6 separate regions of the Homo sapiens genome follow, and regions 2, 3, 4, 5 and 6 are each linked to region 1. Evidence: promoter capture Hi-C in human tissues and cell types (Jung and others, 2019). All regions are on one chromosome and are shown on one strand. Each heading gives the region's core, a stretch centred on a gene start or on the middle of the fragment in contact. The rest is flanking DNA. Distances are from core to core; before and after follow the strand shown.

The links. Contacts are between HindIII fragments. The study calls those that stand out against the background at their distance.
Region 2: the fragment with the promoter of BSG here is called in contact with the fragment with the promoter of MIDN in region 1 in 3 of the 25 tissues and cell types used here (dorsolateral prefrontal cortex, lymphoblastoid cells and small bowel).
Region 3: the fragment with the promoter of ATP8B3 here is called in contact with the fragment with the promoter of MIDN in region 1 in 1 of the 25 tissues and cell types used here (heart left ventricle).
Region 4: the fragment with the promoter of PRSS57 here is called in contact with the fragment with the promoter of MIDN in region 1 in 2 of the 25 tissues and cell types used here (IMR-90 fibroblasts and lymphoblastoid cells).
Region 5: the fragment with the promoter of KLF16 here is called in contact with the fragment with the promoter of MIDN in region 1 in 4 of the 25 tissues and cell types used here (dorsolateral prefrontal cortex, lymphoblastoid cells, spleen and 1 more).
Region 6: the fragment with the promoter of HCN2 here is called in contact with the fragment with the promoter of MIDN in region 1 in 1 of the 25 tissues and cell types used here (lymphoblastoid cells).

The regions. Positions count from the first base shown.
Region 1 is chr19:1,245,494-1,250,071 of GRCh38, reverse strand. It overlaps MIDN (midnolin), which reads right to left and starts at 1,489. Exons shown (of 9, transcript NM_001388306.1): 1 at 1,412-1,489; 2 at 1-182. LOC102723811 (a long non-coding RNA gene) reads left to right here and starts at 2,000. Exons shown (of 2, transcript XR_007067082.1): 1 at 2,000-2,059; 2 at 2,211-3,804. RefSeq lists silencers at 1-25, 266-735, 766-885, 946-1,405, 1,496-2,035 and 1 more and enhancers at 879-1,412, 3,348-4,093. The HindIII fragment of the contact is 34,576 bases long and covers 1-4,578 here.
Region 2 is chr19:570,099-574,403 of GRCh38, reverse strand. It overlaps BSG (basigin (Ok blood group)), which reads right to left and starts at 1,808. Exons shown (of 9, transcript NM_001728.4): 1 at 1,703-1,808. The coding sequence starts at 1,769. It overlaps BSG-AS1 (BSG antisense RNA 1), which reads left to right and starts at 2,156. Exons shown (of 3, transcript NR_184018.1): 1 at 2,156-2,295; 2 at 2,808-2,964. RefSeq lists silencers at 1,468-1,647, 1,818-2,037 and enhancers at 2,858-2,907, 2,988-3,560. The HindIII fragment of the contact is 13,063 bases long and covers 1-4,305 here.
Region 3 is chr19:1,810,605-1,814,689 of GRCh38, reverse strand. It overlaps ATP8B3 (ATPase phospholipid transporting 8B3), which reads left to right and starts at 2,414. Exons shown (of 29, transcript NM_138813.4): 1 at 2,414-2,504; 2 at 2,806-3,201; 3 at 4,007-4,068. The coding sequence starts at 2,954. RefSeq lists enhancers at 1,621-1,780, 2,161-2,906 and a silencer at 2,331-2,700. The HindIII fragment of the contact is 30,703 bases long and covers 1-4,085 here.
Region 4 is chr19:692,577-697,084 of GRCh38, reverse strand. PRSS57 (serine protease 57) reads left to right here and starts at 1,633. Exons shown (of 5, transcript NM_001308209.2): 1 at 1,633-1,733; 2 at 2,118-2,271. The coding sequence starts at 1,655. The HindIII fragment of the contact is 19,970 bases long and covers 1-4,508 here.
Region 5 is chr19:1,861,641-1,865,674 of GRCh38, reverse strand. It overlaps KLF16 (KLF transcription factor 16), which reads left to right and starts at 2,096. Exons shown (of 2, transcript NM_031918.4): 1 at 2,096-2,634. The coding sequence starts at 2,178. RefSeq lists enhancers at 6-560, 3,668-4,034, silencers at 734-953, 1,024-2,123, 2,454-2,633, 2,684-2,853 and a promoter at 1,003-2,207. The HindIII fragment of the contact is 11,768 bases long and covers 1,062-4,034 here.
Region 6 is chr19:588,631-592,647 of GRCh38, reverse strand. HCN2 (hyperpolarization activated cyclic nucleotide gated potassium and sodium channel 2) reads right to left here and starts at 2,767. Exons shown (of 8, transcript NM_001194.4): 1 at 2,071-2,767. The coding sequence starts at 2,702. It also overlaps the pseudogene LOC100420586. RefSeq lists an enhancer at 3,998-4,017. The HindIII fragment of the contact is 14,322 bases long and covers 1-4,017 here.

The DNA of each region.
Region 1 (4,578 bases), core at 240-2,739:
GGTGGGGACGGCACTTGCTTCTCCTTCAAAGGGCGGCGGGCGCGACCGGGACGCGGCGCGGTTAAGGGTCCTGGGGAGGGGGCGCCGCTCGGCTGGTGGCGCTGGGTGCCGTCTGCCGCCCGGGTCGCGCTTCCTCGCGCGTCCCCTCCCTTAGCAACAGCCGTCGCCGCCGCTCGGAGGATCTGGGGGTGAAAGTAACAAGAAAAAAAAGTTATAATGTATCAACGTTCCAGGGGGCGGGGCCGCCGCCCCCTCCCATTCACTACTTACTCCGCCGGCCGGGCGCCGGCCAATCGCCGCGCGCCGAGCGCCCAGTCGGCCGCGAGCCCGGGCCTATGAGAGCCGCCGCGGCACCGCCCCACGTGGCAGCCGGGCCCGCCCCCTCGCCCCGCCCCCAGCGCCCAGGCGACCAAGGGGAGCGCAGCGGGGGCGGGGCTGGCGCCTCTCCGCGCCCGCCCCCGCCCCGCCCGCGCCCGCAGCCATTCATAAGCGCCCGGAGCCCGCAACAAAGGGCGGGCGCGCCCCGGGGGGCGCGGGACCCAGGTCTGGAGACGGGTCTGGTACCCCTCGCGATCCCAAGGGAGCGGCCGGGAGCGGGAGGGGGCGCGGGCCATTGTTCCCGGCGCCGGGAGGGGCAGGAAGTCGTGGGGCCACCCCGCCGCCTTCGTCCGGGAAAAGCCGCGAGCGGAAGCGGGAGCGCGAAGTCCGCGCCTCGTGGCCGGGGTCCCGGGGCGGGCGGGCGACGGTGAGGCTAGGGCCGCGGCCCCGGGGAGGGCGTGGTGCGTGGGGGCGGAGTTGTGGCCGGGGCGGGGCGCCCGCACCTCGGTGACGTGGCCGGGTGGCTGCCGCCGGGGGCCCCGCGCGCCCACCCGCCGGCCGCGGGCAGAACCCGTTTCCCCGAGGCGCGCCCGCTCGAGCCGTGACGTGACGCGGCGTCCCCGGCTGCGCCCGCGCGCGCTCGGGGATGCGGTGAGTCAGCAGCTCGGGCGCGCCCTCTGCCGGGCCCGCCTGGGAGCGCCGCCCGGAGTCCCGGGGAGGGGGCGCCGCGCTGCCCCTGGCAGGGGAGGAAGACGACTGGGCTGCGCGCGGGGGAGGAACCCCGATCGGGAACGAAAGACTGTAGTCGGGAGACTGGGACCGTGTGGCTGGGCAACGGAGGGCGGAACGGCAACCAGTTCAAGGTCACCCGCGGTGAAGGGGGAGTGCCCCGGGGGGCGGGGCGGGGGCTGAGGTCCGGCCAGGGCGGCGCTGGCTGCGCGGAGCCCCTCCCACCCCGCACCCCGGGGGGCTTCCCAGGACCGGAGGCTCCCCGATCCCTCCTGTCCCAAGAACAAAGAAAAGTGCGGGCATCCTGAGCCATCTAGAGTGGGCACCCTTCCTCGGCCCGCAGGTCCCCCCCCTCCACACTCACCGGGCGCGGCCGGTTCTGCGCTCCAAGTGCTGCGAGTACCTTCGTCCGGGGCCGAATGCGCGCTGGCCGGGCCGGTCTGGGCCAAGCGCGCGGCCCTCAGCCTTTATCCGCGCCGCCTTCCCTCGGGGTGGAGTTAGGGCGGGCAGGGGGGCGGGGGGCCGGGCGGGCGGTGACGCAGACTGGCCCCCGCCCCTGCCTGCCGGCCCTGGCCCTGGGGCGCCTTGACGGCTGGGCCACCCGGGACCCAGGCTTGGCGCAGTTCATGGGGGGACTCCCCTTGAATGCCCCGAGCCAAGGGTCTCGGCCCGCCTCGCCGCGGGCTGAGATGCACCCCGAATCGTCAGCGGGACAGGGTTTTGGGGTGTACAGCGCGACTCGCTGCCCCGCCCCCTTCCTGTCGCCCCAGGCCCGGTGCTTCCGCCTGGGGGCGCCCGCGTGGGGGGGACGGGAAGAGGGGCCTGAGTCAGCGGCTGTCGTCCAGGAAAACAGGCTGGAGTCACCTGCCGTAGAGTGGGGGTGCCCTGGCCAGCCCTGGCCTCCTGCATCTGTCAATGGTGACCTCAGAGGGCATTTATGGAGCGATTAGCCAGTGCCAGGCCTGCCTTGTGCCCAGCCAGTCACCAGCCGGCTATGCTGTGACCCCGGGAGGTAACTGGCCTCTCCAAGCCTCAGTTTCTCCAGGGTGGGTGGGAGTGTGGTGAGGGGATGCGGCAGGATCACTTTGGGGCCATCACCCCCCATTAATGCAGGACATGCACTGGTTCCCAGCCTTTGGGGTGGGCATTACCCCATTTTACAGATGAAGAAACTGAGGCCACAGCCAATGAGACACGAATGTGGTGTGCATCTCACCCTTCCCCGTCGGCTTTTTGAGGATGGTCCTGGTTGAGGTGGGCCCCGTCCTGCCCCTCTATTTAGAGAAGGGGACCCCATTCCTACGGGAGCACCTCCTGTCCACTCATCTGGCCCCTCCCTTTATCTGGCCTGACCACCTCCACCCCCACCCTGGCCATGGGCGCCCCTCCCAGGGCTGCGCTCCTCCCCAGGTCTCCTTCCGGCTGCCACCCATGCTCCCGGCAGCCGTGGCCCCCACCTTGACAGGCACACCCAGCCCCGAAGGGTCAGGGCTAGGCCAGAGAGGGAGAGGCTGGGATAACCCTTGGAAGGGGGTCACAGGGGCTGCGGTTTGAGGAATGACTAGGAGTTTGTCACATAAAAAAGATGATGCGGTCGGGCGCGGTGGCTCACGCCTGTAATCCCAGCACTTTGGGAGGCCGAGGCGGGCGGATCACAAGGTCAAGAGATTGAGACCAGCCTGGCCAACATGGTGAAACCCTGTCTCTACTAAAAATACAAAAATTAGCTGGGCATGGTGGCATGTGTCTGTAGTCCCAGCTACTCAGGAGGCTGAGGCAGGAGAATCGCTTGAACGCGGGAGGCGGAGGTTACAATAAACCCAGATCGTGCCAGGGCACTCCAGCCTGAGCGACAAAACGAGATTCCGTCTCAAAAAAAAAAAAAAAAAAAAAAAAGGCCGGGCGCGGTGGCTCATGCCTGTAATCCTGGCACTTTGGGAGGCCGAGGCGGGCGGATCACGAGGTCAGGAGTTCGAGACCAGCCTGATCAACATGGTGAAACCCTGTCTGTACTAAAAACACAAAAATTAGCCAGGCGTGGTGATGTGCGCCTGTAATCTCAGCTACTTGGGAGGCTGAGGCGGGAGCATTGCTCGAACCCGGGAGACGGAGATTGTGGTGAGCTGAGATTGTGCCATTGCACTCCAGCCTGGGCAATAAGAGCGAAACTCCTCTCAAAAAAAAAAAAAAAAAAAAAAAAAAAAGACGATGGTCCAGGAAGTGGGAATGGCTTGAGCAGTTCTGGGAGCTTAGTGAACTGGACCCAGTTGGAGGGAGGAGGGGCAGGGTCGATGAATGGGGCTTGGATGAAGGGCTGGGGCCCCAGGTGGGAACTACAGGGCCAGGCTCATTCTGCTTCCAGTGAGAACAAAGGTGGCGGAGGGAGCCGTGGACTGGTGCCAAATGAGCAGCCCAAGCAGGACACTGGGGCCCCCTGTGAGTGGCCAGCAGCCCCCACCTCCCTCCCTGCCTCTTGCCTCTCGTGTGTGGCTCTGCCACCTGCACACCGTCACCTCAGTCTGGTCGGGAGTGGAATGGACACCGTCACCTCAGTCTGGTCGGGAGTGGAATGGACACCGTCACCTCAGTCTGGTCGGGAGTGGAATGGACACCATCACCTCAGTCTGGTCGGGAGTGGAATGGGACACGGGTTGTCGGAACTTGCTGGGCTTCACAGGGGCCACTGTGTGGCCCTTTGGGGACCAGATGCCCAGAGCCAGTCTAAATGAATAAACATGCTAAAACGCTTCCCCACCATTTCCCATACTCGGCGTCCCCATGGTTGAGTGGGTTGTTCCTGGGTGTGATGGGGACAAACCCTGTGCTCTGTTCTGCCTCACTAAGCCAGGGGCTGCCCTCACTGAAGGGCCTTGACCGCCTGGTTCCCGGCCCCACCCTGACTGCCTCCTGCTCCAGGACGCATCCAGCCAGCACGGGCTGTTCCCTCCGAGTGTCAGGTGTCTCGGGTGTCCTGAGGCCTGGCTCCAAGGTTCACACCCTCCCTGGTGGTGGGGGCAGGGGAGGTCCCCGGAGTGAGCAGCTCCTCCCGCTGGGCCCCTGCTAAGTCCCAGCTGTGCCCTTGGTCTTATTTATAGGGTCCTGGTGGCCTGGCAGGAACTTGAAGACCTGGGGCTGGAACTGGGGGCGGGGGGGAGGGGGGGCCTGGGCAGAGGCTGCTCCTGTGGCCTGGTGGCTGACACAACCTTCCCTGGGCTGCGGATTCCTGGAGAAGTGGGGGCCTGGTCACTCGTGTCCCGAGGCCCAAGTGGAGGGGGAGCCAGGCAGGGGACCGTGGGCTGTTCCAGAATACCTGATCTGCTGACCGGCGGCCTCAGAGTCGCAAGGCCCCCAACGGCACCTCGCCTCAAGTGAAGCTGTGGCAAGTCACCCGCATAGTGCCATGACGTGGGAGTGAGCTGCCCGTCCGTGCTGACAGGCCCGGGGCGGCCTCTCTGTCACCATCCCAGCTCCAGTGACACAGGCAGGCCCACCCTCCCCACTCACCCCCCTGGAATTCCCTGCCTACCCCAC
Region 2 (4,305 bases), core at 559-3,058, 680 kb after region 1:
TTTTTTGTATTTTTAGTAGAGACGGGGTTTCACCGTGTTAGCCACGATGGTCTTGATCTCTTGACCTCGTGATCCGCCCGCCTCGGCCTCCCAAAGTGCTGGGATTACAGGCGTGAGCCACCATGCCCGACCTCTTTTTTTTTTTTTTTTAAAGACAGAGTCTCCCTGTTACCCAGGCTGGAGTGCAGTGGCATGATATCAGCTCACTGCAACCTTCACCTCCCAGGTTCAAGCGATTCTCTTGCCTCAGCTTCCTGAGTGGCTGGGATTACAGGCGTGCGCCAACACGCCCAGCTAATTTTTGTATTTTTAGTAGAGATGGGGTTTCACCATGTTGGCCAGGCTGGTCTTGAACTCCTGACCTCAGGTGATCCACCCGCCTCAGCCTCCCAAAGTGCTGGGATTACAGGTGTGAGCCACCACGCCCGGCCTCACTATAAATCTTTAACCCAGAACCAAATGGGGGTCTCAACAAAGGAAGAAATTTTCTATGAAGCAAGAAAGGATGTCATGCTTTTCTCCCGGAAAAACACACCTCAATCCATTTCCCAAATGCGCTCTCCAAACCACGTTTGCCCACCCTCAACACACGGCCCTCCTAAGACAGCACTGGAAACCGAATGCGGGTCAGAGTCGGCTAAAAACGACTTTCTCACTATTTCCTGCGCTGAATCGGGTGGCCAGGGCCCCCTCACTGTGACCTTGGAACCTCGACTTCCCACAGGGCTGTTTCCTCGCCTGTAAAGGAGGAGGGGCGTTCAGAGACCACCTCATTCTGGGTGCTGAATCCAGGCAGAATCAGAGGGAGATTCCGCCTTCCCTTCCACGCAGGGCCCCTCGAGGGAGCCTGCGAGGTCTTAAGAGTCTGGGAGAACACCCGGGGGCAGGTGCACGCCCTAGGCAAGACGCCAGGGCTAAATCCCGTGAAGAACGGTAATCCCTTCCCGATCCGGAGGGCTGACCCACTCAGAGCCTCCATGTGCTCTTGGAGGACAAAAGCCCCTTTTCCAGAAGGGAGCGCCAAGATGATCGCTCCAGGCCGCACGGGCCCTTGCGGGGGCCCCAGAGAGTCTCAGGGGAGGGTCTCTGACCCTAACACTCGCAGGCAGGGTGGACCCGTCTCCAGATTCCACGCCCAGGCCGCTTTCCCCAGGTCCTGCGGAGTCCAGCCCCAGCAGGACGGGTTGGGCAGGCACCAACCAGCCCCTGACCCCTGGCTCCAGGCCAAAGGGGACGCTCACCCAGGCTTTGGGTCTCCCTTCTCCTGGCCGATGGGACCGGCGGGCGGGCCACCTCCAACCGCCTTCGCAGACGCCCTCACCCAGGAAGCAGGTCACCCCCAACCCCAGGTGACCGAAAAGCAAGACGCCCACCTCCCCTGACCAAGACCGGCCTGGCCAGGACCCCCTGGCTCCCGCCTCCAAGCAGGGAGCTTCACGCCCACACACAGAGGCCGGGCTCGAGGCCGGAGCGCCCGGGGGAGCCCGGCAGGCCGCGCCGGGAGGAACCTCTAGTCCCCCCTCAAACCCTGGGACTTCACCCCCAAGCTCCATGCTGGCGCGGGAAGCCCCCGGGGCCGGCCTTTCGCACCCCAGGCCGCCCCGCGCCGAGGCCCCAGGCTCCCGTCGGCTTCGGGTCGGCACCGCGGCCTCCATTCCCGGCCCCTGCAGGACCGCACCCCCGCCCCCTACCCGCTCCTCACCAGCCCCGGAGGCTCCGTGGGTGCCCAGCAGCGCGAATCCCAGCAGCACGAACAGCGCAGCCGCCATGATTCCTATTCCTCGCCGGTCCTACAACCTCCAACCGCTGCCGCCGCCGCCCGCGGCCGCTATAAAAAGCGGCGGAGGCGCGGACCGGGCGCGCGCACGCACGGCGTCATCTCGGGGGCGGGGCGAGCGCCGGGGACGCCGGTCGCCCCGCCTGCGCACGCGCGCACACGCTCGCATGTACGCGCCGGCTCCGGCAGGCTCACGCTACGGAATCCGGGCGGCGGCGCACGTGACCCGGCGTTGCTAGGAAACGGGAGTGGGGCCTGCGGGGACGCGGCTGGAGCCTGCGCATTTCTTCCTTCCTGCTTTCAAAGTTGCAATGAGCGCAGAGCGGTGCGCCCGAGGGGGTTGAAGCGTTGAAAGTGTGTTACCCAGATTTTATCTGAGTTAAACACGGGCCGGCCGCTGTGGCTCACGTCTGTACTCCCAGAGCCTTGGGAGGTCGAGGCGGGAAGATCGCTTGAGCCCGGGAGCTCGAGACCAGACGCGGCAACATGGCGAGACGCACATCTCTGCCTTTAAAAATGTACATATATATATATATATATGAACGTATTAATAAATTAGGTGGGAGGAAGTGACCTCCTCCGCCCAAATAAAAATACTTAAAGGGCACTTGAATCTGGATCTCAGAAAATGAATAATTTCTTAGTATAAACGTCCTGTGCACCATTTGGTTGGGACAAGTAAGTTCCTCTTCAGAAACTCAACTTCCAGGTCTAAAGTTGTCAATCAACCTTACCCCCTTCTTCTTTCCTCGCAGGTGGCGCGTTTACCCTATTTTAAAAAAGTTTTAAGTTTTAGCCAACCGGGATCAGCTTAGATTGTGGGCGTCCAACCCCAGCCAACAGGGAAAGGACAGAGGAACAGAAGCTCCCTTCCTTTGTCCCGTGTGCTCTGGAGATTGCATCCCACGCAGGCAGCCCCCTTCCGTACAAGTAAAGTGGTCTCGCTGAGAAATTTTCTAAGTGCTGGTTTCTCTTTGCGGGACCGACTCGCCGCCCCCAAATATCCCATTTGGATCCCATTCTGTTTCAGGAGAGGCTGGCGGTTACCTTTCTTGGGGAGACGCGTCCGACTGCTTCATTGTGGGGGCCTCAGGAGCGGAGGATCGGGTCCCGCCCGAGGTGACGCGTAAACCCAGACTCTCAGCAACGCGGGTAGGAAGGACCCTTGAAGTTCCGCGGCGACCACGGTGAGAAAAGTCGCTATTGGGGCGACACAGGTGGGGGCGTCTCTTGGAGGTTGAAAGTGTGTGTTGGAAGTTAAACTCGGAGTCGCAATGCAAGAGGACCGCAGACTAAGCCGAACGCGAAGGGCTAACTGGAAAGGGGCAGGAATGTGGCTACACTGGCGGGAAGAGCCCGTGGCGACGGGAGGGGGATGTGCAGAGTGGGTGGCAGGTGCCATCTCTGCAGATCAGGACCGGCGGGAAACTTGTTTACTGAGACTCAGACGGGGAGGCCCAGAGGGTGAGGAAGTCAGGTTGGCCTTGGAAGTAGGAAACGAAGAACGAGGGCGCTGAACGAGCCAAACCTTTGAAGAGGAACTTGTGAATGAATGAGACGCGCCATATCTTTTGTGTGTGTGTGTGTTGGAGTCTCGCTGTGTCACCCAGGCTGGAGTGCAGCGGCGCGATCTCGACTCTCTGCAACCTCCGCCTCCCGGGTTCAAGCGATTCTCCTGCCTCAGCCTCCTGAGTAGCTGGGATTACAGGCGCGCACCACCACGCCCGGCTAATTTTTGTATTTTTAGCAGAGACGCCCCATATCTAAAGAAGGGTGGGATCCTCTAGACCACCTTCCCCCACTCACCCCTCCGCCCCTCCCAACCCACCCCCTCCGCCCCTCCCAACCCACCCCCTCCGCCCCTCCCAACCCACCCCCTCCGCCCCTCCCAACCCACCCCCTCCGCCCCTCCCAACCCACCCCTCCGCCCCCCCCACCCACCCACCCCACCCCTCCGCCCCTCCCCAACCCGCCCCTCCGCCCCTCCCACCCACCCCTCGCCCCTCCGCCCCTCCCCCACCCGCTCCTCCGCCCCTCCATCCCTCCCCTATAGAACCACCTGGACCTTGCCACCCACATCCCCGCTGGACAGCCACTAGAACATGCCCCTTCCTCAGGAAAGCTCCAACGGGAAACAGAACAATGCCAAAGGGATATTCGAAACTTTCGGCCGGGCGCGGTGGCTCACGCCTGTAATTCCAGCACTTTGGGAGGCAGAGGCGGGTGGATCACGAGGCCAGGAGTTCAGGACTGGCAGCCTGGCCACGATGATGAAACCTCGCCTCTACTAAAAATACGAAAATTAGCCGGACGTGGTGGCGGGCGCCTGTAATTCCAGCTACTCAGCTACTCGGGAGGCTGAGGCAGGGAATGTCTTGAACCCGGGAGGTGGAGCTTGCAGTGAGCCGAGATCGCGCCACCGCACTCCAGCCTCGGCAACAAGAGCGAGACTCCGTCTCAAAAAACAAACAAACAAACAAAAACCCACAGAACTTTCCTTTTGCCTCCTGCTCAAAAAGACCTGCCTC
Region 3 (4,085 bases), core at 1,165-3,664, 560 kb before region 1:
AAGTGATGAGCCTTGCGGGACAGGACCCAGCAGCTGGGGGCAGGTTGCCTGGAGTGGGTTTCCTGCCACCCTGGTCTTGGGCTTCTGCTGAAGGGCAAGGCCAAGGGCACAGGTCCCGGGATGAGGACGTGGGGGCCCTCCCCAGAGGACTCCATCCCAAGGCTCCCTTCCCGGTTCTGGGCTCTGCATCTCTCCAGGGCCCTCCTGGGGGACCGTGGTTAGGCCAGGCCCTTCCACCCTCGAGGGCTGTTCTTGTGACTAGTGACTCTCCCACCTCTTCTGTAAAGGAGTTGTTTTCTTTTTCTTCTTTATTTTTGAGACACAGTCTCGCTTTGTCACCCAGTCTCAGCTGGCTGCAACCTCTGTCTGCCGAGTAGCTGGGATTATGGCTGTGCCATCACACCTGGCTAATTTCGTATTTTTAGTAGAGATGGGGTTTCACCACGTTGGCCAAGCTGGTCTCGAACTCCTGACCTCAAGTGATCCACCTGCCTCGGCCTCCCAAAGCGTTGGGATTACAGGCATGAGCCACTGTGCCCGGCTCTGTGTTCTAAATAAATGGCGCAGGCGTGTATGCGCTCTGTTTCTGTGCATTCCCATGTGATGTCTGCCTCCCCCTTCCCAGAACGCACCTGGTGCCTCAGGACATAGCCCACGGGGGGTCCCAAGGCTGGCCAGCCCTGGCTTCAGCCCCCAGGGACTCCCTTCAGCTTGTGAAGCCACCTGTTGCCACTGGAGGCTTCAGGGCCTTTGCACAAGTGCCCTGGGCAAGCTCCTGCCCCCAGATAGTGCCCCCTGCGAAGGCTGGGGTGGGGGAATCTGGTCCTCACAGCTGCACCCAACCAGGTCTCTTCTAAAGTTTATTAGAACAGTGTGTTCAAACTCCCAGCCCCGGCTTTTTTTCGTAACCACTGAGCAAGCAAGCAAGCACAGGGGAAGTGTTGAAGGAATGAAAGGAGAGAAGTCAAACACAGTGGCCTGCCTGCCTGCTTGTGGTCCCAGCTACTCTGGAGGCTGAGGCAGGAGGATCGCTTGAGCCCAGGAGGTGGAGGCTGCAGTGAGCTCTGATCGCACCACTGCACTCCAGCCCGGGTGACACAGTGAGACTCTGTCTCCAAAAAAAGAGAGGTTCCCTGGCAGCCTCCAGGGCCAAGCAGGCTTCCAATTTGGGCTTCCAAAGAAAGAGGGTTTGTGATCACCGAGAGCCCTCAGGTGGTTGCCGCTTTGATGGGGGAGGTGGCTTCCCTATCCCCCTCCACCCATGTTTGCCTCTCCCTTTGGGCCCTCACCCCAGGTAGCCTCACTCTTGGGGGCATTTCATCTTCAGCAGCCCCTCCGCACACACTTTCTGACCCTGGCTCCAGGCCCTATCGCTGGCCTGGACCCGCCCTAGCCTCGTCGCTGAACTCACCCCTGCCACTTCTTCAGTAAGGATCCCTGAGCCCCTGCCACCTGCTGGAAAGAACCCTGCGGGCTTCCTCTTGGCCTTAGGGTGGTCTCAATGGCTATAACCGCCTCTCCCCAGCCTGGTGCTCAGCCCTGCATCTGCGCCTAGGAGGCGCTCGTTGAACGTGTATGGGATGAATGAACGAACCCAGGACACGGATCAGACATGACTTACATAACCGCCGTTACCTGTGGTCCTTCCTCCTGCACTCTGCCACGCTGGCCGCACCAGCCTCAGCCCCGTCAGGTCTGCAAGGCCCATTCCGACCTGACCCAGGCCCACCTTTCCAAGAACCCTTCCAACCCCGCCCTGCGGTGCAGGTTCTTTCTGCTCCCTGACCAAGCCCGGCCCGGCCCTGCCCTGACACCCTCTTCCCTTTCAGGCTCCGCCCCTGCACTGGCACTGCTCCCTAAGGCCCTCCCAAGGCCCTGCCTTCTGTCCTGGACCCACCCTGAGCGCCCTCCTACCCTGACCCTGCTCTGCGCGGCCCCGCCTTCCTCCTTTGTAACGGCTCCGGATCCCAGCCCCGCCCCTACCATAACACTGCTCCGCAAGGCCATGCTCAACCCCGCTTCCCGCTCTGGCCAAGCCCCTGAGTCCTGGCCCCGCCCCTACTCTGACTTTGCTCAGCGAGACCCCGCTCGTCCTCGCCTTCCTTCTAGTCCCTTCCCCAAAGTCCCGGCCCCTCCCCAGACCCAGGCACTGCTCCCGAGCGTCTTCTATCCCGGCCTGTTCTGCGAGGCTCTGCGAGGCCCCGCCCTTCGGCCGTGACCGCGTCCCTGAGGCCTGGCCCCCATCCTGCTCGGCCGTGCTCCGCTCGGCCCCACCCTCGAGGCCCCGCCCCTTCTTCGCCTTGGCCCCACCCACCCCCTCCAGGCCCCGCCCCCGGCCCCCTTCCGGGGTCCGAACTGGCTCCACCTTCGCCTTGGCCGGGCCCCGAGGCCCCGCCCCGAGATCCCGCCCCCCGTTTCAGGACCGTTGGCACCGGGCTAACGGTTCCACCACGTCCGCCGCCCTGGACGCCCGCGGCCTGCCCCCCCCTGCCTCTCCTGCGCCGGTGAGCGGCGGGTGCTCCCACTGCTGTGCGTCCCCGGGAGCCCGCGCACCCTCTCTGGGCTCCACCCAGGCTGAGAGCTGGGGTCGTGGCGGCGGGGGTGGAGAGCGCGCCCCTAGAGGTTCGCGCGGTCGGGGCCCCGGGGCGGGTGCAGACAGCCCTGGACTCTGGAGCCCTGTCCAGGGCGGTCCTGTGCCCCTGCGGCTGCGGGAAGACGGGGTGGGGGGCTTCCGAGTAATGGGGCATCCCAGTTAGTGAGGGGGCAGGAAGCCAGCGCTGTGTCCGTGTCTCTTTCTGCCCCCAGATACACTTCGAGTGGATTCTGGCCATTTGAGCATTCTCTCCAACTCTCCAATCCCCAGTCTGCCCCCACGGGGGTCTCCCCCACCTCTCCCCCGTCCCACAGCCTAAACCCCTCTTCGCCCTGAACCTCCCTTTTCCTCATGCGGTGAATGGGCACTGGCCCCGCTCAGACTCCCAGGAGCACCAGAGCTGGCCCTGAGCCAAGCCCTGCCCCACCAGGACCTGGGGACACGGGTGACTCAGACGTGACTCAGGAAGGCTCAGGTCCTGCTGGCATCCGCGGAGGTGAGACGGTGATCAGAGCTGGGATGGGAGACTCCCCAGGCAGAGGGGCACCTGAGAGGAGGCACAAGGCCCAGCCTGGCCGGGCTAGGAAGTATGAATGGAGACCAGAAGGGTGAGGACGGGTGCATCGGGTGGCCGGAACACAGGGGCAGGGGCTTGGCGGGGAGGGCACTGCTAGAGAGCTGGCAGGTGGGGGGCCAGTTGCTGGCGTCTAGGGGTGGTTTGCCCATCCTCATAGGGGGCCAAACCAGGGCCCCCGGTGCAGGGCTAGAGCCAGACCCACATTCCTGAACCTGCTAGTGGAGAAGATTCCAGGATCTTCTGACGATGTCCGTCTGCCTCCATCGCCCCCATCAGAGTTTGCTGCCCAGCCTGGGGGGGTGAGGAGGGGAGTGGCCATGCCTGACCCTCATGCTGTGTTTTGAGATATAACATATAGCCCGGGGGTCCCATTCAGTCAGTGAACAGATGACTGAGCCCCTAAGCTGGTGCCACATGGGGAGAGGGGCAGGAGGCCGTCAGTGAAACCAGGAGGAGGTGAGAGTGGTCCTTTCAGGAAAAGCGAGGTGTGGGGAGCAGTGGCCGGAGGCTGGCATGGCCAGAGGCTGGCATGGCTGGCGGTAGAGTCCTTCTAGGCTGTACTGGCGGGAGGCGACCAGGGTGGCTGGCGGGGGACACTGGCAGATGGGCTGTTGCAGGTTTGAGGATCATCTTGGGGTCCCCTAGGTCTCAGGATGTCCAAGGCAAGACACACAGCCTATGGCTGGACATTCAGAGCCTGGCGGGGAGGCTGCAGATGAGTGTGGGAGGTAGCATTTGAGAGGGTCGGCCCCTAGGCTGTGAGCTCCTTGAAGACCGAGTGGTGCCCAGCAAGGGCTGGGGTCACTGCTGTGACCCGGGGCCCTTCTCTCCCACAGCCCCACCAGCATGGGCAGCCTCGGCCAGAGAGAAGATCTCCAAGATGAGGACAGGAACTCAGGTGCTGATCCTGGGCAG
Region 4 (4,508 bases), core at 384-2,883, 550 kb after region 1:
GGGGTTTCACTATGTTGGCCAGGCTGGTCTTGAACTCCTGACCTCAGGTGATCCACCTGCCTCGGCCTCCCAAAGTGCTAGGATTATAGGCGTGAGCCACTGCACCCGGCCCCAGCCTGTTCATTATTAAGCGCTGACGAGCACCCCACTGCTAGCCACTGCCGTGAACGCCATCACCCGGCTGTGTGAGCTGCAATTTACGACCTGAACTTTGCCACTAAGAACGCTCCCACTGAAAGGTGAAGACCTGCCGGGCTGGGCGCGGTGGCTCAGGCCTGTCATCCCAGCACTTTGGGAGGCTGAGGCAGGTGGATCACCTGAGGTCGGGAGTTCGAGACCAGCCTGACCAACATGGAGAAACTCCGTCTCTACTAAACACACAAATTTAGCGGGGCGTGGTGGTGGGCACCTGTAATCCCAGTTACTCAGGAGGCTGAGGAAGGAGAATCCCTTGAACTCAGGAGACAGAGGTTGCGGTGAGCCAAGATCGCGCCACTGCACTCTAGCCTGGGCAACAAGAGCAAGATTCCTTCTCAAAAAAAAAAAAAAAAAAAAAAAGGCCGGGCACCGTGGCTCATGCCTGTAATCCCAGCACTTTGGGAGGCCGAGGCGGGCGGATCATGAGGTCAGGAGATCGAGACCATCCTGGCTAATATGGTGAAACCCCGTCTCTACTAAAAATACAGAAACAAAATTAGCCGGCTGTGGTGGCGGGCGCCTGTAGTTCCAGTTACTCGGGAGGCTGAGGAACGAGAATCACTCGAACCCGGGAGGTAGAGGTTGCGGTGAGCCGAGATGGTGCCATTCCACTCTAGCCTGGGCAACAAGAGCAAGACTCCATCTCAAAAAAAAAAAGAAAAGAAAAAAAAGGTGAAGACCCCCATGTACAGCCATGTCCCACTGGACTCCGGATCCCACAGAACGTCAGTGCTACAGGCTGGGGTGCGGTCACTGCCTCATCCTCACCTCCTAGCATGAGGTCTGGTATACACTAGGCACTCAATAACTGCTGAATAAAGGCAGAAATCTGCCAGGTGCAGTGGCTGTCTTCTGTGATCTCAGCACTTTGGAAGGCCGAGGAGGGAGGATCGCTGGAGCCCAGGAGTTCGAGACCAGCCTGGGCAACATAGCAAAACCCCACCTATAAAAATAAAATAAAATAAAGGCAGAAATCATCAGAGCTTCCCAGGAGACCGGCCTTCCTCGCTGTCCCCACAGCCCTGAGGTCGGCCCTGGGTTTGGAGATGGGAAGACTGGGGTTTGCGGGGTGGGGGCCGGAGGCGAGCTGCGGGTCTCGAGTGCCGCTGTGACCTCGGTTCCTCGGAAAGCTCCCCACACATGCTGGGCCACGTGGAGGCTGGGTAAACTGAGGCACAGAAGGGTCAATTGCCTTCCCGAGGTCACTTGCAGCCCCAGAGCTGTCTCCTCCTCTCCCTGTTTCCGGACTAGGGGACAATGATTATTATCAACATGATTATTACCAGCCACCACCTGAGACCATCGATTTCTCAGAAACGCCCGCCTGGGCTCCAGGCGTTGCTGGTGGGGCCTCCCGACCACAGGCCACAGCCAGGCTCCCCCTTTCCGGCCGTTGGCTGAGGGTGGGAGCCACGGCCCGAAGACCTCTGCGGGGAGACGCCAGCCTGCGTCTGCCATGGGGCTCGGGTTGAGGGGCTGGGGACGTCCTCTGCTGACTGTGGCCACCGCCCTGATGCTGCCCGTGAAGCCCCCCGGTGAGGAGCCCCCCGGGATCCCCACCCAGGCCCCCGCCAAGTCCCCGTACGGGGGCCACACCCGGGAACCCCCAGTCCCGGGAGAACCCTGGGGAGAGCTCCACCTGCTCCATCTGCCGAGCCCCCGTGGCTGCCTCTGCTGGAAATGGATGGAAATCCGGCCGGGGTCTCTGCCCAGCCCAGCCCTGGATCTCCCGGGCTCGGGAGCCCCTCCCAGCGCATCTGGGGGGCTTGTCTGGGCTCTGTCTCCAGCTCTCTGGGTCTCTCCGTCTCTAATCTCACCCCCTGTCTCTGTCTTGGCCGCTACTTCTCCCCCTGCCCTGACCCCAGCCCCGTCATCCGTTCCTCCCGCCTCGTCCCTGACTCAGGCCGTCCCTCCAGCAGGCTCCTGGGGGGCCCAGATCATCGGGGGCCACGAGGTGACCCCCCACTCCAGGCCCTACATGGCATCCGTGCGCTTCGGGGGCCAACATCACTGCGGAGGCTTCCTGCTGCGAGCCCGCTGGGTGGTCTCGGCCGCCCACTGCTTCAGCCACAGGTGAGCTCACCTGTCGGGCCCCTTCTTTCTGGACACCGTATCCCGACATGAGGGGGACTCCAGGCTGGTGGGGGAGCTGGGGGCGCCGTGGCTCCTGCAGGAGGGGGAGTCTCAGCAGGGGCTGGATTTAAAGGGCAACAAAGGGAAAACAGGAGGATAAGGCAGGGAGGCAAAAGAAGCACAGAAGAAGCAACAGGCGCAACAAGTACATATTCTGTTACTGTAACTGTCACTATGTTCTTTTTTTTTTTTGAGGCAGTCTCGGTTCCCCAGGCTGGAGTGCAACGGTGCAATCTCGGCTCACTGCAACCTCCACCTCCCGGGCTCAAGCGATTCTCCTGCCTCAGCTTCCCGAGTAGCTGGGATCACAGGCGCCCACCACCACACCTGGCTAATTTTTGCATTTTTAGTAGAGACTGGATTTCACCATGTTGGCCAGGCTGGTCTCGAACTCCTGACTTCAAATGATCCACCCGCCTCTGCCTCCCAAAGTGCTGGGATTGCAGGTGTGAGCCGCCATGCCCTGCCTCGTTTTAAACATATTGTTATAATAACTATTAAAATGTATATTGGGGCCAGGGTGGGTGGGTCCCCTCCTGCAGGAGCCCCCACCAGGCACGGGATAGGTTGGTCCTGGGCTGCAGTGTCCCCAGCTCCCCCGCCAGCCTGCAGTCCCCCTCACGTTGGGACACGGTGGATTGTTTGAGGTCAGGAGTATGAGACCAGCCTGGCCAACATGGTGAAACTCTGTCTCTACTAAAAATACGAAAATTAGGCTGGGTGCGGTGGCTCATGCCTGTAATCCCAGCACTTTGGGAGGCCGAGGCAGGAGGATCACGAGGTCAGGAGATCGAGACCATCCTGGCTAATACAGTGAAACCCCATCTCTACTAAAAATACAAAAAAATTAGCCGGATGTGGTGGCAGGCGCCTGTAGTCCCAGCTACCCAGGAGGCTGAGGCAGGAGAATGGCGTGAACCCGGGAGGCGGCGCTTTCAGTGAGCCGAGATCGCGCCACTGCACTCCAGCCTGGGGGACAGAGCGAGACTCTGTCTCAAAAAAAAAATACGAAAATTAGTTGGGCATGGTAGCAAGTGGCTGTACGTATCCCCAGCTACTCGGGAGGCTGAGGTAGGAGAATCACTTGAACCCAGGAGGTGGAGGTGGCAGTGAGCCGAGATGGCACCACTGCACTCCAGCCTAGGGGAAAGAGTGAGATTCTGTCGGAAAAAAAAAAGTTAATTGTGGTTTTTGCCATTTAATTTTTTTCGTGCAATTACTTTTGCACCAACCTAATATTATCACGGGGCCGGCGTGAGCATTAAATGGATTACTGGGCCTCCATTTCATAGATGAGTGGACTGAGGCCCAGACGGGCAGCCGTCACCCCCATCTCACCCACCCCCTCCTCCCCGCAGAGTCCTCCGCACCGGAGCTGTGCTTCTGTGGTCCCAGCTACTTGAAAGGCTGCTGTGGGAGGATCGCTTGAGCCTGGGAGGTCGAGGCTGCAGTGAGCTGTGATCACACCACTGCGGCCTGGGTGACAGAGTGAGACCTTGTCTCAAAAAAAAAAAAAAAAAAAAGGCCGGGTGCGGTGGCTCACGCCTGTAATCCCGGCACTTTGGGAGGCCGAGGCAGGCGGATCACGAGGTCAGGAGATCGAGACTGTCCTGGCTAACACGGTGAAACCCTGTCTCTACTAAAAAAAAATACAAAAAATTAGCCGGATATGGTGGCGGGCGCCTGTAGTCCCAGCTATTCAGGAGGCTGAGGCAGGAGAATGGCGTGAACCCGGGAGGTGGAGCTTGCAGAGAGCCAAGATTGCACCACTGCAATCTTGCCTGGGTGACAGAGCGAGACTCCGTCTCAAAAAAAAAAATTAAAGAAATAAAAAAAGGAGAATATTGAAATTACTGTAGTTAATATTATAATTGAAATAGAACTTATAATAAATATAATAAGTATTATCTTCATTCTAAATATGTTTTTATAATAATGATTCAAATTAATACCACAACTATTGCAGTTAATTCTATATTGGAGGTAGGAAAAATAATAAACATAATTATTAATTTATTATCATAATATTAAGTTGGGGGCTGGGCACCGTGGCTCACGCCTGTAATCCCAGCACTTTGGGAGGCCGAGGCAGGTGGATCACTTCAGGTCAGGAGTTCGAGACCAGCCTGGCCAACATGGTGAAACCCTGTCTCTACTGAAAATACAAAAATTAGCTG
Region 5 (4,034 bases), core at 847-3,346, 610 kb before region 1:
TGCAGATGAGGCCACTCACTTGAAACCCTGATAATGGCTGGAGTGGGCAGACAATGGAGTCTCACAGTGAAGGTCCTGCCTGGGGCCATGTGGCCCACCCCTGGAGGCTGCTCACCCCTGCCCCCCATCGTTAGCCTCCCAGTTACAACTGTAAGCCCCTTGAGGGCAGGGCTGGTTGGTTCTGCTCTAAGCCCAGGAAACATCAGTGGAAGACGCATGGTTGGGTGTGGACCCTGAGGCCTCAAGACACACCTGTCCACAAGCCAATGCGGGGTTCCAGGACCCTGGGGGCTGCTGGGATGGTGGGGACCTGGGGGACCTGCCCAAGTGGCCCATCGTCCTAGAAGTTCAAAGACAACAGAGGCCCAGCAGGAGCAGGAACGCCGACCCCCAGCGCCCACCGAATGGTAGGGGTGCAGAGAGGGCTCTGGAGCCCAGGCCTAGGAGAGGGGCAAGTGTGTGCAGGGCACCCTGTACCCTCCCACACTTCGCTGAACCTCCTCTCTCTCGGCTCCGCTCTGTCCAGCCACGTAGAGTGGGCTTACTGGGGCCCAGGGAGGGCTCAGCTGGCTTAACCAAGCATGGTTGAGCCCAGGCGCAGTGCGGGCGACCCAGGGAACAGTGGTCAGCCTCAGGGCGTCAGCTGGGGTTGCAGGTGGGCGGGGGATGGGGCTAGAGAAGCCCCGAATCGGGTCAGGGCCTCTGTCCATGCCCAACCCAGAGCAGGAGGTCGCCGCAGGCCAAAGCAGCTCCGCCCCCTGGAGGCAGCTCCGGCCACTGCGCAGTCCCCGCCGCCCCGCCGGAGCTGGGAAGGGGCGGGAGCGCGGTCGCGACCGAGGGGGGCCGCCCAGTTTCTGTGCCCCCGCCGCCTTGGGCCTGCGAACTGGGCCATCCGCGTCCCTGGTGTCCCCCCTAATATTTAACAAGTTGGCCTGGACGTCCTCGCGGCCGGGAGGCCCGAATACCTGGCCTCAGTTTTCCCGTCCGAACCCCAAGAATCGATGCCTGGGAATGGAAAGAGAAGCCCCGGACCCCGGTGTCCCAGCAGGGCGGGGAACCTCTGACCCGCTCAGGCGCCCCCAGCCCAGCCCAGCCCTTTGCGTTCGGCCCCCTCTTCCCGTCCCCCTATCCCGACCCTCTGGGACCCAACCGGCCCTCCCCACCCCCAGTGGGGCGCGCTCTAGTAGCTCCGGAACTGGGTGCAAAAAGAGGAACGAACGCAGCCTTGCCCCACCCTCCCGGGCCCCGCCGCGGGCGCGGGATACCGGGTGTCTCGGCCGGGAGGCTCCGAGGGGCTCTGTGAGCGGCGAGGGGGAACCCCAGAGAAGAGGACGAGCAGATGCCTGAGTGCGGGGTCAAAGCAGGGCCCCAGGCCGGGAGAAGAGGGGGGAAGGGTCGCGCACGTGGCCTGGGGGCGGGGCCGGCCGCTTCCGCACCCCTCCAACCCCGGCCACGTGGGGATCGGAGCCCTCCTCCATCGCGAACGGGGGCGCGCCCGGGGCCAGGAGGGAAGCATCCGGGGAGGGGGCGGGCTCCCGCCGGCCGCGCGCCCCGGCGTGGGGTGGGCGCGCCAGCGAGGAGGCGGGGCGCGCTCTGGGAGGGAGGGGCGTGCCGGGATGGGGCGGGGCGCGCTCTCGGAAGGAGGGGCGTGCCGGAGAGGGGGCGGGGTCCTCGGCCTCCCGCCCCGGCTTGAGGGGGTGGTGCTCCGGGAAAGGGTACGGGGGCGCGCGCTGGAGTGGGGCGCGCCGGGAGGGGGCGGGGCTCCCGGCCTTGCACCCTAGCGCGGAGAAGGCGCGCTCCGGGCCTAAGACGCTAGGCGCTGGCGGAGGCCGGAGTGGGCGCGCCGGGGGGCGGGTTCCTCCGGCCCGAGCCCCGCCCCCGGCGGCCGCGCGCGGCTCGGAGAGTGGTGGAGGGCGCGCCGGGCGGGGGGCGTGGCTGCGGCGCCCCGAGGGGGCGTCCTCCGGGCGGGGCGGGCTGTGGCCGCCCCCGCGGGCTCCGGTGCGTCAGGACGCGTCAGGCGGGGCGGGGCAGGCCGAGCGCGGGCGTCGGCGGCGGCGCGCGCCGGGCCTCCTCCTCCTCCTCCTCCGCCTCCCGCACTCGAGCAGCCGCCGCCGGCCGGACGGACGCCGCTCCCGCCGCCTCCGCTCCGCCCGCCGCGCCGCGCGCCCTTGCTCGGCATGTCGGCGGCCGTGGCGTGCGTGGATTACTTCGCCGCCGACGTGCTCATGGCCATCTCTTCGGGCGCCGTGGTGCACCGCGGGCGGCCCGGCCCCGAGGGCGCGGGCCCCGCCGCCGGCCTGGATGTGCGCGCGGCGCGCCGCGAGGCCGCCTCACCCGGGACCCCGGGGCCACCCCCGCCGCCCCCCGCCGCTTCTGGCCCGGGCCCCGGCGCCGCCGCGGCGCCCCACCTGCTGGCCGCCAGCATCCTGGCCGACCTGCGCGGCGGACCCGGAGCCGCCCCGGGGGGCGCCTCGCCCGCCTCCTCCTCCTCAGCCGCCTCGTCCCCGTCCTCGGGCCGCGCCCCCGGCGCCGCGCCCTCCGCCGCCGCCAAGAGCCACCGCTGTCCCTTCCCGGACTGCGCCAAAGCCTACTACAAGTCCTCGCACCTAAAGTCGCACCTGCGGACGCACACAGGTGAGTGCAGCCGCGATCCCGGCCCTTGCGGGGGCGGCCGCCTGAGACCCCTCCCCCGCCAGGACCCCGAAACTGCGTGGCGCGTGGGGGGCGGGGAGGGGGGCGCGCCCGGGCCGCCGCCGCGCCGGCCGGCAGGGCGGGGCCTCGGTGGGTGGGGCGCGCGCGGGGGGCGTGGCGGCCACGCGGTCGGGCGGCGAGCGGATGGCCGCCCCGGCGGCAGTGGCGGGGGCTCCGGGGGCCCAGCGAGGTCTGCGGGCGGGATTGAGACTCCTGGGCAGACCACCTCTCTCCCTTTCTGGGCCTTGTTCCGTTTTTTTTTTTTTCTTTTGCGTTCTGGTCTGGGCGGTGGGCACCGTGGTTGGAGCATCCGGCTCTGGGGTTCTGGGTTCTCCCCCTCCCCCAGCCTCAGTTTCCTTATCTGTGAAAATGGAGGAGGAACCGCGTCGCCGCCGCCGGGGTGGCCGCGCGGATTCTCCCCAGAGGTCGGCAGAGCACCTGGCGTGGGGCCAGGATGGGGGGAGCCCGGCACGTTTTCTCTGCGTTCTCTGTATTTTAACGAGGGGGAGGGCGAGGCTAGGAGCGCGGGTTGGGGCCTGAGTCTGGGCGGGGGAACTTCATAGTATTGGAGGACCCTCGAGGGGCTCGGGTCCACACTGCTGTATTTCCCTGGCGTGTTTGTTCACCCCTACCTGGCGGGCGATTCGGGAAGGTGCGCGTAGTTGGAGCGCTTCGGCTACACCAACGCCCCTCCTAGCGCAGTCCCCGGGGCGGCGAGGGGAACCGGGAGCCTGGTGGGCCTGGCTGTATTTTTTCACTCCGTCCCCTCCTAGGGTTCCACTTTCTGGACTGGGAGTTTGGACTGGGCAACAGGGGACGGTGGGCCTTGATGGCCGGCCCTGGTTTGGGCATTAGAGGTGCTTGTCCCTTCCGGGGAGGGTGGGGGGCTGGGGGAAAGCTGTGCGGCTGCCCTTGGGCTTGGCATTCTGGCCTTGCCACCAAACAGAAGACCTCTACCCGATCTGGGTCTCAATTTTCTCATTTCTATCAAGAGTGCGATGCTGCCTCTATTTCATAGCCATAGCGGTGGCCGCTTTGGGCAGCTGGACACTCCAAGGAGGCTTGGTCCGTGGGCTCGGATTGTAGGGACACGTGGAGCAGCCGAAGGGAAGTGGGCCGTCCAGAGTGGTGGGGCTGAGATGAGCAGGGGCCGCGAATGCCTTGCGGAAGAATTGAGGGTCCATCTTTGGGGTATGGGGAGCCGCGCTGGGACGCCTGAGGGTGGAGAGCAGGAGGGCGGGTGGGGGCGGTGGTGTGTAGCCTGCCGGCCGCCCCCTCTCTGTTCTGCACTCTTTTCACCCCTCGCTCAGTCCCTGTCCTGGTCCCAGGGGCCTGGAGGCTCT
Region 6 (4,017 bases), core at 1,518-4,017, 660 kb after region 1:
AATCTGACTGCCGTGACTCCCCTAGTCCCGAAGACAGGCCCCGCTAACCCCATTCCCTGCCTGCTCAGTTCCACTTCAACACTCATCTGCCGGGGTGGGGCTGCACTTGGTCCACACAGGGGCCTCTGAGCCCTCTATGCCTCAGAGCACAGAGCGGGGCCACAGCCTGCCCAGGCCTCCAGGCGACCACGCCCAAGGAGGGTGGAAGGATGAGAGGGCTTCACTCCTACCACCGGCCTTCCCCCCAAGCCCCGGGATCAGCCATCTGCCCACCTGCCCCCCAGGCCACCGACCGCCCCTCTGCAGCCAGGGGGTCGCTGGAGCTGCCCAGGGGAGGGAGTGGCTGGTGTGGGCCTCCACCTGCCAGCCCCCACGCTGCGGTGCACCCATCTCTGTCGAAGGTCATGCTGGAGGGGACGGAGGGGAGTGGGCACGTTCTACAGCTCCCTCTCCACCGCGTCCCTCTCCGGTCAGGGGGTGCCACTGCCCGACTGGAAGTGGGGCCAGGCCGACCAGCAGCCCTGGAAGTCCAGTCCTTCCCGCTCACTGTCCACATTTCGCAGGCCAGAGCCCAGATGCTGACCAAGCTCTCCCGGTGGGGCACAGAGGCAGGGTGGGAGGGGCCGGACACAGCCCCTCTGGGGATTTCGGGGCTCCTCCCACCCCTGGCCTGTCTCGAAATCCAGGCTTCTGGTCAAAGCTGTATTCACCTCTCAGGAAGGCCTGGGGTGGGAGGAGGATTCCAGGGCCTTCCTCCAGGCTCTGTCCAGGACGCATGTGCCCCAGGCCTCAGTTTCTCCAGTCAAGCACTAGGGGTGCAGAGAATCCAGGGGAAGAGAGAACCCCACAGCCTCCCTGCCCAGTTCCGGGGGTCCAGGGTCCGTGGGGGCTGTCCTGGGGCGCCCAGGCCTGGAGGAGGAGAGACAGGCGGGAAAACCGCAGGCTTCCCAGGTCCGGCGCGCTGTCCGTGGTGCTGAAACCGCGCCCGTCCCGCGCGCCCGGCCTCGCTAGCCCGGCGGGCCCCACCTACACCCTCCACCTGCACCCTCCACACCCCACCTCACACCCCACTCGTGGATACACAAACACACACGCATCCCTCCATGGTCGCGTGTGTGAGACCTGCCTGCGGCTCACACTACTGCCCACCGGTGCACACCGGCCCCGGGCGTACACGCGCACGCCCGCCACCTGGTCCCAACACACACAAACCACACGTCCCACCAAAATAAACCCACCGGAGGCGCACACGCCCGCGACCACCACGCAAACACACTCCTGGAGACACACCTCTCCGGCCACAGGCTCGCGCCCCGGGAACCCCGCCGCGGTCACGGGCCCCTGTTCACACACAGCCCACGGGGACACGCGCCGGTCTCGCTCTCCGGCCACAGCACGCACAGCCCAGGAACCACGACCGCAAACATCAGTGGCGGTGGCCCCGCGCCGGCCCTGCTCCGAGCCTTCCACGCATTAGCCGGCTGGATCCACAGCGGCGTCTACACACCCACCGCCGCATGCGCGCACCGCCCGCGGCTCGGGTGGAGCGGCTCCCGGGGACACAGCCTGGGGACCCGCACGCTTTCCAGGCCCGCGGCCCCGGGCGCGCCTCCTCGCAGGCGGGGCGCGGGTGGACGCCGTGGGAGCCGCTTAACCCCCTCTCCCCCGGCCTCCCTGGGGCGCGTCCTTCCCGGGCGCCCTTCGTTCCTCCTCCCTCCCGCTCCGCCGCCTCTCTGGGGCCCACGTTCCCCTCTATTCGTCCTCTCTGCCCCTCTGCGCTCAGACCCTGGCCCTGCGGCCCACCCCACCCGCCGCGCCGCAGGGCGGAGGATGTCGGGGTGCGTGGGAGGGGGGCGCTCCGCGGTCACCCGGGGAGCCCCCCCAGAGGCGGAGCCTCGCGCGCCGGGGTCACTCCGGGGCGGGTCCCGGACACGCCCGAGGTCACCGAGGAGCCCCGAGGTCACCGGCCCGGCGCGCCGCCCCGCCCTCCCCAGGCGCTCCAAGGACGGCTCCCCGCGCGCCCGGCTCCCCGGGCCCCCTCGCGCCGACCGGCCCTCCCGGAGGCGGTACCTGAAGTCGCTGTACGGGTGGATGATCCAGGCCCCCGCCGACTTGACGCGCTCCTGCTCGCGCTCCACGGCCTTCTGGCTGCCGAACATCCGCAGCGAGAACTTGTTGACGCCCGGCTGCAGGAGCGCGCCGAACTGGCGCTGCATGAAGCTGGCCTGGCTGCCGCGCGGCTCCCCCGCCGGGCCCGCCTCCTCGCTGCCCGCCTCCTCCGCCGGCCCCGGCCCCGGCGCGGGCCCCGAGGCCGCCCCGCGGCACGAGAACGACACCTTGGGCCCCCGCGCCGGGCCCTCGGGCCCCGCGGGGCTGCACTGCGGCTCGCCGCGCCCGCACTCGCCGTTCGGGCTGCCCTTGGCCGTGCTCGCCGCGCCCGGGGTGCCGGGGCGGCCGCACGAGCTGTCGCGGCTGCGGAGCCGGCCCCGCGGGCCGCCCTCATCCGCCGCCTCCGGGGGCAACGCCTCGGCCCGGGGCGGGTGCTGGGGGGGCGCGGGCCCGGGGCCCGGGGGGGGCGCGGGCGGCGGCGGCGGCGGCGGCTGCTGTTGGGGGGGCGCGGGCGGCGGCGGCGGCGGCGGCCCCGGCGCGGGGGTCGCGCCCGGGCTCTCCCCGGGCCGCCCGCCGCCCCCGCGCGCGTCCATGGCGAGGCGGCGCCGGGCAGTGCGGAGCGGAGCCGCCGCCGCCGCCGCCGGCCGGAGCCCGAGGGAGGGGGGAGGCGGGGGCGGGGCGGGGCGGAGCCGCGGGGGGCGGAGCCTCGCGGCGGGGGAGGGGCGGGGGAGGGGCGGGGGCGGGAGACCCGCCTCGGCTGCGCCCCCTCCCCGCGCGCCGCCTCCGCTCGGCGCCGGGAAACTCGGGCCGCGGGGTCGGGGGCGCCCCAAGGTCACGCGGCCCGAGGCCTCGGAGCCCCGCGCGGGCCTCTCCCCAGGAGGGGAAACTGAGGCCCGCGACGTGTAAGGACGCGCCCAAGGTCACCGGGCCCCGCTGCCCGGCCGGAGCCGCCTCTCCTGCGCCGCGGCTTCCACCTCTGTCCGGAGGGCACCGGCGCGGGGAGGGTGGACGCGGGCCTGGGAGACGGGAGAGGCCGCCACGGCCAGCGCCTCCTTGCTTTCTGTGAGGTTTGAAGACTTCCACGACGAAAGGGTGTTTCTAAAGGTCACAGGAGCCCTTGCTGGGTCGCCTGTGGGCCCTGGACAGAGACCCTTGAGTGCGTGGGGAGGGGCAGGCCGGCTTGGGCGCCGTTCTGGGAGACTCAGGCACTCCTCTCCCTGGTCTGCATTTGAGGAAACTGAGGCCAAGCCCAGCCAGACAAGGAAAACTGGAAAAGCCACCCGAGGGTGTGGGGTTCCCACCCACCCCTCAAACAGTGCCCTGGGGAGCCGTGCGGCGGGGGTCTCCTCTAGGTCTGGTGGGCTTTAGATTGGGGTCACAGGGAGACCCAAAGCCCACTAGCGCCTTCGCACGGGTACCAGAGCCCCCTGCCCCGGGGTTGCCTCCTTTCCCCGACCCCTCGGACTCCGGGTGCAGCTGTGCCCCCAGTGCCTCCAGTCCCCAGCTCTGAGACAGGTGCTTCCCAAGGCTCTGCTTCTGGGCCGAAGCCGGCTGGGCGTGGGTGCTGCTTGGTGCCAGGTGACATGAGGCCTCTGTCCCTAGCCACCCAGCCCACCAGACAGCCGGGAGGGGGCAGGTGAGGAAGCTGGCAAGTGAGAGAGAGGAGACAGACAGTCACACTCGAAGAAGTGGAGGCTGAACATCCCCACCTGGAGGCAGGAGGCCCTCCTGGGACCCTCCTGGCACCTGGCCTGACGTCCTCTCAGCCACGATGTCCCGTGTGCCGGGTGCCCCCCACCCATCTGCACCTCGAGGCCACCGGGGCAGAGATGGCCCTCTTCCTACACCCAGGAGGCACTCAGTGGTACTTGAGGGAGGGCCAGCATGTGCCCGGCTGACAGTGGATGG